2 separate regions of the Homo sapiens genome follow, and region 1 is linked to region 2. The links are contacts of gene promoters, found by promoter capture Hi-C in human tissues and cell types (Jung and others, 2019). All regions are on one chromosome and are shown on one strand. Each heading gives the region's core, a stretch centred on a gene start or on the middle of the fragment in contact. The rest is flanking DNA. Distances are from core to core; before and after follow the strand shown.

Region 1 (4,504 bases), core at 309-2,808, 550 kb before region 2:
CCTAGGCGACAGAGTGAGACTCCATCTCAAAAAAATAAATAAATAAAAGAAAAGCTGTGTAAAAACTGGATAGACCTCTGAGACATGTTGTTAAATGTTAAAGCCAGTTGCTGAAAAATATATACCTTTAATTCCAAGTGTATTTCTGTATAATACATCAATACTGTCTATAATCCTTAACTACTTATTGCAGTACTAGTCTTGCTTAATTTAGAGTCAGTCGGTATTACTGACTTATTAATTTCCATCTATATGTGTTTATATCTACAACTAATAATGTTTCTTGAGAACATGGATCATGATATATACGCCAAAATGGTACTATGCATAGTACCACACATAAAACAGGTGCACAAATATTTATGGATGGCTAACAATATGTAAAATATGAAGAAGCAAGATTGGCCTATTTTTTATTTATTTACTTTTTTTTTTTTCTTTACAGAGTCTCACTCTGTCGCCCAGGCTGGAGTGCAGTGGCAAGAGCTCAGCTCACTGCAGCCTCTGCCTCCCAGGCTCAAGCAATTCTCATGTCTCAGCCTCCCAAGTAGCTGGGATTATAGGTGCATGCCAACATGTCCCACTAATTTTTGTATTTTTAGTGGAGACGGAGTTTTGCCATGTTAGCCAGGCTGGTCTCAAACTCCTGGCCTCAAGTGATCTGCCTGCCACAGCCTCCCAAAGTGCTGGGATTACAGGCGTGAGGCACCATGCCCAGCCAAGACTGGCCTTTAAGAAGCAGAGAAACGAAAACACTCATTAAATAGAAAAACTAACACCACAATTCAGTTCTTTATGCTTCCTCAGTCAACATGTCTTATACCACGAAAGCTCTTTTGAAAATTCTAGTAACAAAATCTGTGATTATATTTTCCTTCTCATGAGGTGTTTTTTTAGTCCCTCAAATATATAAGTAAAAGCTTAGAAACCTGTGTAGGCCAGGCGTGGTGGCTCACACCTGTTGTCCCAGCACTTTGGGAGGCCGAGGCAGGCGGATCACTTGAGCCAAGGAGTTTGAGACCAGCCTGGGCAACATGACAAAACGCCATCTCTGGGCCAGACACGGTGGCTCACGCCTGTAATTCCAGCACTTTGGGAGGTCAAAGTGGGTGGATCACTTGAGGTCAAGGGTTAAGAGACTAGCCTGACCAATATGTGAAACCCCATCGCTACTAAAAATACAAAAATTAGCTGGGCATGGTGGCACACATCTGTAATCCCAGCTACTTGGGAGGCTGAGGCAGAAGAGTTGCATGAACCCAGGAGACGGAAGTTGCAGTGAGCCAAGATCGTGCCACTGCACTCCAGCCTGAGCAATAGAGCAACACTCCATCTCAAAAAAAAGCAAAAACAAGCAGGGCTCGGTGGCTCACGCCTGTAATCCCAGTACTTTGGGAGGCTGAGGCGGGCGGATCACCTGAGGTTGGGAGTTTGAGACCAGCCTGACCAACATGGAGAAAACTTGTCTCTACTAAAAATAAAAAATTAGCTGGATGTGGTGGCATGCGCCTGTAATCCCAGCTACTTGGGAGGCTGAGGCAGGAGAATCGCTTAAACCTGGGAAGCAGAGGTTGCAGTGAGCTGAGATCATGCCATTGCACTACAGCCTGGGCAACAAGAATGAAACTCCACCTCAAAAAAACAAAACAAAAACAAAAACCATCTCTACCAAAAAATACAAAAATTAGCTGGGTGTGGTGGCATGCACCTGTAGTCCCAGCTACTCGGGAGGCTGAGGTGAGAGAATCGCTTGAGCCTAGCAGTTTGAGGCTGAAGTGAGTCAAGATTGCGCCACTGTACTTCAGCTTAGGTGATACAGCAAGACTCAATTTAAAAAAAAAAAAAAATCTTATGTGTAAAATATTCATACTCTACAACTTTAATAACACTTACTGTCTGTCTAGCATCGATGCTGTCAACATGCTCATTAAGGCCACAGTTGATATATGCAAACTCTACACCTCTTCTTGTTATCCAACATGTCTTCTTACTATGAAAGGAAAGTTATATATTAAAGTCAAATTCACATCAAACTATAATCACAAAAGAAATCAAAGTCAAAAATGTCTATAATATTTATAATATATATGATATTCCAAAAAGAAAGTGACAAAAGAGAAAAGACAAGAAAGACTGCACTTATTGCCACTGGAGGTGACTATTGCACTCTGAAAAAGTCTGTATAAAAGAAAGTAACTAAGCATCTATTCTGCCTTTAAGTAGAACACTAATTCCAGGTAACAAAATAGCCTTAGTTGATGAGAGAAACCTTATCTTTATAGAAGGTGGCTAGCTACTAAATGTATAAGGAACAACAGAACCCAAAACTAATTACCATTTTTTAACCAATAATTAAATAGCTAATCAAGAATCATCAATGAATGCTAAAATCATTAGGTGAAAAGTTGGTAAAGAAATTGACCTGGCCAGGTGCGGTGGCTCACACCTGTAATCCCAACACTTTGGAGGCCAAGGTGGGTGGATTACTTGAGGTCAGGAGTTTGAGACCAGCCTGGCCAACATGGTGAGACCCCGTCTCTGCTAAAAATAAAAATTAGCTGGGCATGGTGGTGCACACCTGTAATCCCAGCTACTCAGGAGGGAGGCTGAGACAGGAGAATCACCTGGGAGGCAGAGATTGCAGTGAGCCGAGATGGCACCATTGCAGTCCAGCGTGGGCAACAGAGAGAGGCTCTGTCCCAAAAAAAAAAAAAAGTCCCACAAAAATAAAAGAAAGAAATTTATCTGGGGCCGGGAGTGGTAGCTCACGAGTGTAGTCCTATTACTTTGGGAGGCCTGGGGGGGTACAGGGAGGGATTGCCTGAGCTCAGGAGTTGGAGACCAGCCAGGGCAACGTGATGAAACCTCATCTCTACTAAAATTACAAAAATTAGCCAGGTGGGCCGAGCGCGGTGGCTCACGCCTGTAATCCCAGCACGTTGGGAGGCCGAGGTGGGTGGATCACGAGGTCAGGAGATCAAGACCATCCTGGCAAACATGGCGAAACCCCATCTCTACTAAAAATACAAAAATTAGCTGGGCATGGTGGCACGTGCCTATAATCCCAGCTACTCAGGAGGCTGAGGCAGGAGAATTGCTTGAACCAGGGAGTCGAAGGTTGCAGTGAGCCAAGATCACGCCACTGAACTCCAGCCTGGCGACAAAGTGAGACTCCATATCAAAAAAAAAAAAAAAAAAAAAATTAGCCAGGCATAGTGGCACACGCCTGTAGTCTCAGCTTACTCAGGAGGCTGACGCACAAGAATCACTTGAACCCGGAAGGCGGAGATTGCAGTGAGCTGAGATTGTGCCACCGCACTCCAGCTTGGGTGACAGAAGGAGACTCCATCTCAAAAAAGAAAAAAAAAATTAGCCAGGCATAGTGGCAAATGCTTGTAGTCCCAGCTTACTCAGGAGGCTGACGCATGAGAATCGCTTGAACCCGGGAGGCAGAGGTTGCAGTGAGCTGAGATTGTGCCACTGCACTCCAGCCTGGGTGACAGAGTGAGTCTCTGTCTCCAAAAAGTCAAAAAATAAAATAAAATAAAATAAAAATGTTTTTTAAAAAAAGAAATTTGAGGCCGGGGGCAGTGGCTCACACCTATAATCCCAGCACTTTGGGAGGCCAAGGCAGGAGGATCACCTGAGGTCAGGAGTTCAAGACCAGCCTGGCCAATATGGCGAAACTTCGTCTCTACTAAAAATACATAATTAGCTGGGCGTGGTGGCGAGAGCCTGTAGTCCCAGCTACTCGGGAGGCTGAGGCAGGAGAATCACCTGAACCCAAGAGACAGAGGTTGCAGTGAGCCGAGATCGCACCATTGCACTCCAGCCTGGGCAACAAGAGCAAAACTCCGTCTCAAAAAAATAAAAAATAAAAAATTTACCTGATGTCAAAGTACCACCCTATAGATTACTACTTGCTAGAAGCAAAAAGAAAACCATAACTTTATAATGAAATGATCAGGTTCTCACCACATTAGCTTGGTGATCAAATACAGCATCAAAATAGTGGGACCTGACATTATATGCCTCTTAACTAGAAACAGTAGGAAGTACACAGCATTACTAAATGAGATACTCTTCCAAAACTGTTTAACCTAAGTCTACTCACACCTTTAGATCTAACTCCCAGTTTACAGGAAATAAATATAGGGGATAGAGGAAGAAGTAATACTACACCATGAGGAAACAAGCAGCAATACAAAATGTAATCGTCTCAACAGACCTAACAGGTCAATACCACAGGGAAGGAGAGGCAGAGTAGGGAAGGAGAGGCAGAGTAGAGAAGGAGGTGGATGGGTAGAAGAGACAGTTCTACCTATATATTTAAAAAGACTCAAGATTACAACCCAAATGCAACGGGTAGTTCTTGACTGAAATCTGGCATTTAAAAAAAAAACACCAGCCTGGCCAACATGGTGAAACCCCGTCTCCACTAAAAATACAAAAATTAGCCAGGCATGGTGGCGGACACCTGTAATCCCAGCTATTTAGGAGGCTG
Region 2 (4,113 bases), core at 1,516-4,015:
AATTTGAAAATAACTAGCCTACCTTGGCAGTTCTCAAAGTTTGTAGTATCAAGACCCCTTGGCATGTTTAAAAATTGAAGACTCAAAGAAGTTTTTTTCATGTGGATTGTAACTATTGGTATTTACCATATTAGAAATGAAAACTGATAAATTATATATAAAAGATTAATTCCTTAAAATTGACAATAAGCCCATTACATGTTAACATAAATATCATATTTTAATGAAAAATTACTATATTTTAAAAACAAAAGATAAGATTGGCATTGTTTTACATTTTTGTAAATCTCTAATATCTGACTTAAAAAACAGCTTAATTCTATTTGCTTTGATAGCACATTATAGTCTCCACAAAACTTCATTGTACACTTCTGAGAGAACAAGAGTGAAAAAAGCAAGTAACACATGAAAACTTTTTGACCTCATGGATCCCAGAAAGAACCTCGGAGATTGTCTACAGTCCCCAGCTCACATTTGGAGAACCTCTGTCCTAAATCCAAAGGTCCATTCTAGCTGGCACTGAAAATTGACTTAATTTCTGAAATCCTATTAACCGTTTTGAAGAGTCTGATTCTACCAAAATACTAAAAAAGAATGTGAGGTGAATACTAAATAGAAAAATGTTGAATTCAAAATGAAGGGACTAAGATAAGTGGTTTTTATTACAAAGCAAACTGTATTAGATAACTTAAATCTATGTATGTTCAAAAAGATGTACTTGTCATATCTAGTGCAATTACTTGTTTACATATCTCTTCTACCCAACCTGTGAGCTTTGCAAGAAGGAAATGAGTCTTTTTTGTTTGGTTATTTTTCTGAGACAGTGTCTCGTTCTGTTCCCCAGGCTGCAGGGCAGTGGTGTGATCTCGGCTCACTGCAACAGGGAGCCTCCTGAGCAGCTGGGATTACAGGTGCCCACCGCCTCACCCGGCTAACTTTTTGTATTTTTAGTGGAGCCGGGGTTTCACCATGTTGGCCAGGCTGGTCTGGAACTCCTGACCTCAGGTGATCCGCCCGCTATGGCCTCCCAAAGTGCTGGGATTACAGGCGTAAACCACCGTGCCTGGCCAAAGGAATTGAGTCTTAATCCCTTTTGCATCTTCAGTCTTTAGGATAACGTCTGACACACAACAGGCATTAAATATTTGTTGGATGAATGAACTGAACTGCATAGAATGCAGAAAGCCTACATATACTGGCCAGGCACAGTGGCTCACACCTGTAATCCCAGCACTTTGGGAGGCCGAGACGGGCGGATCACCTGAGGTCAGGAGTTTGAGACCAGCCTGGTCAACATAGCAAAACCCGGTCTCTATTAAAAATATAAAAATTAGCCGGGCATGGTTGTGGGCGCCTGTAATCCCAGCTACTCGGGAGGCTGAGGCAGGAGAATCGTTTGAATCTGGAAGGAGGAGGTTGAGGTGAGCCGAGATCGCACCACTGCACTCCAGCCTCGGCGACAAGAGGGAGACTCCGTCTCAAAACAACCAACCAACAAGCCTACATATCCTGCCACACGTGCTACAATCCACAGCAAACTGTTTCATCCACATTCAACCACTTTCTTAAAGTCACCATCATGATCCTATCAAGAAAACCGTAATTTATATGGTATTTTAATGTGCCTTTATAAATTACTAATCACTTTCTTCATGATGTATGTTAAAATGGCTTATGTCACCTGATGTAATCCTTAATGAGGGAAATAAAAGGCCATGATTATGCCTGGCTTTTTTTCTTATATGTTAGATTTGAGTGTTAAAATGACCTCGAAGCGGCGAAAGAAAGGAACGGAACTGCCCTCCACATTAAAAATGAGCAGGCTCCATAGGTTAATTTTACTCTTCCTCACGCACGGCACTTACATGTTGCAAACTCTCTGCTCCACAGCACGCACAGACATCCCAAATCCCGGATTGGGCCTGAGGAACATCTCTGCAAAGAGCGCCAGGAGGGCGTGGGGGTCCCGCCTCTCTCGCCAGGGACCAGGGAGTGGACACTCACTGGTCCAGTCATGAGGAACTCAGCATCCTCCTGACGGGAGGCGCCTCTTTCCCAGAAGCGGTGGGTCAGGAGGAATCTGACTAAACCCTGGGTTGCCGGCCCGGAGGGCGCGGTTGACCCCGGGGCCTCGAGGTTGTGGGCGAGGAGTAATCCGCCCGCCGAGACCGACCCGCAGATCCAGGAGACCGAAACCCGAGGGCGGCGCTCCAGGGTGCTGAGGAGACCGGAAAGGCGGCCAGGACCTTCCGGTCGCCTCGGCCCACCACCCACCCAGTGTCCGCGCAGCCCTAAAGCCTGGCAGACGCGGAGCGCACGCGGCCTTTGCCTCGGCCAGGACAGGGCAGCGGGGAGAGGGCTGCTAGACAACAATTCTTGACCCCTCCTCGACCCACGACCGCCAGGTAGGCGCGCAAAGCTCCTACACCTGCGGCGCGCCCCCGTCCCCTGGTCCAGCGGACACGCCACGCACGCAGCCCCGCCCAGCGCCGCTCGCGGTAGGGGCGGAGCCGCTGAGCTGGCCAAAGCGGATTTGCCCAGCTAGGCCAGGGGCGGGGCAGGCCCTCCCAGCCAGGACCAGCCCCAGTCTCCCCGCCCCTGAGCCGTGAAGGAAATAGGGACCTGGCCCTGGGCCTTGTGTAGCGGGAGGGGGAGCTAGGAAGCAGCTGAGGGCAGAATCCAGGAGGGCCTGGCTGCGGGGGAATGAAGCCTCCGCCTTCGCAGGCAAAAGCCTTTAAATACGGGCTCAGGCCCGGGACTCAGAGTGTAACGCGTGGCAGCCTGAGGGAGGGGCGTGCGCCGAGAGGGAGCTCAGATCGAGCGGGGCGCGGGTGGAGAAGCTGCGGCGGCGCGGCCCGTAGGAAGGTGCTGTCCGAACGATCGGGATAGGAGCGGTCCCTGCGCTTGCTGCTGGGAAGTGGGTAAGCGCCGCTCCCAGGCTGGCCCCGCCGCCCGGGCGGGATGCTCCCAGGTCTGGGCGGGATGTGGAGGGAGCGGGGCTGGGGTGTGCGCGCTGCTCCCGGTCGCTCGCTGCGCTGGGTCCCGGGCTTCCCGTCTCACGACCTTCGTCTCTTTGGGGCTTAGGGCGGGAACCGCATTTTGGAACTGCTGTCCTGGGGATGTGGTCGTCTGGGCTTCTTATTCAAGACTCGTGAGTCTTCCAGCCCCTTCTCTTTCTGCCTTTACCCACTTTCCTGACTTGGATGAGATTTCCCTGCCGCCTCCAAAGCCGAACGCCCACCACAGGAAGCGGTTCTCTCGTTGGGGACCTCATTTTGGCCGCAGAGTCGTAGTCTTTTGTTTGTGTTTAAGAGTCTGCTCACCTGAGGGGCTCCTGCTTTTCTCATGCCGCCCCTCTTAAGAAACCAAAGAGAAACGAAGCCAGAAAGCCCTCTTGAGAGCAAAATACTAAGACTGCCGTGATATCTGTCCGGGATGTCCTGGAATCCATTGTTGGCCCCCTACACCACAGAATTGCTCTGTTTGATGTCGGGGAAGGCCTTTCCTGGGTGCCTCGGGAGACCATGTTTGTGTGAGATCTTGAAAAATTATACGTCCTATAAATATATAGGAAGATAACTTAGTAGGGTTAGGAATTCTAGTATAGAGAAAAGAGGGGTTCGCTGGTAGGGATCTATTCATGGGCATACAGAGCAGTAGCTGTCTATCGACAGACCTCAAAGACACAGTGAGCCTTTGAGTTTCTTCAAATCCCTTAAGAAATGGAGAACAGTAGTCTTTCTTCAGGGGGGTTCTGGAAATGAAAGAGCTGACTGTCTGCTCTGAGATGTGCTTATTAGTGGCCAGGATCCAGTTTAAGGTAAGGGGTAGACAACCCTGATTGAAAAGATCTCATTTCTTCTCCCGTTGCTGTACTCCTTTTTCTAACAAAATCTATAACTGGATAAGCATAATCCATCTTCCTTCTTGTTTACTTCCACAGCTTTACATGATAACCCTTAGACATAAAATTAATACCGGCTTTCTTACTGATTAAATATTTTTCTCTGGTCAGGCATCTTTTACTGTTTAATTTCTGGAAATGATTAAAATGTGTGAAGCTGATGTATCCAACTATAATGCCCATCGTTAGCTCCTGGGTACCTATGCAAA

The links. The method cuts DNA at HindIII sites, captures the fragments that hold promoters and counts their contacts. A contact is called where the count stands out against the background at its distance.
Region 1: a contact is called between a fragment that was not itself captured here and the fragment with the promoter of UGDH in region 2, in 1 of the 25 tissues and cell types used here (mesendoderm cells).

Annotation. Positions count from the first base shown.
Region 1 is chr4:40,070,941-40,075,444 of GRCh38, reverse strand. It overlaps N4BP2 (NEDD4 binding protein 2), which reads right to left. Exons shown (of 18, transcript NM_018177.6): 2 at 1,894-1,990. Among named protein-coding and RNA genes, the nearest start is that of N4BP2, 16 kb to the right of the region's middle. The HindIII fragment of the contact is 4,840 bases long and covers 1-3,978 here.
Region 2 is chr4:39,526,091-39,530,203 of GRCh38, reverse strand. It overlaps UGDH (UDP-glucose 6-dehydrogenase), which reads left to right and starts at 2,765. Exons shown (of 12, transcript NM_003359.4): 1 at 2,765-2,921. It overlaps UGDH-AS1 (UGDH antisense RNA 1), which reads right to left and starts at 2,365. Exons shown (of 5, transcript NR_047679.1): 1 at 1,866-2,365. RefSeq lists an enhancer at 1,881-1,940 and silencers at 2,321-2,620, 2,871-3,050. The HindIII fragment of the contact is 14,033 bases long and covers 1-4,113 here.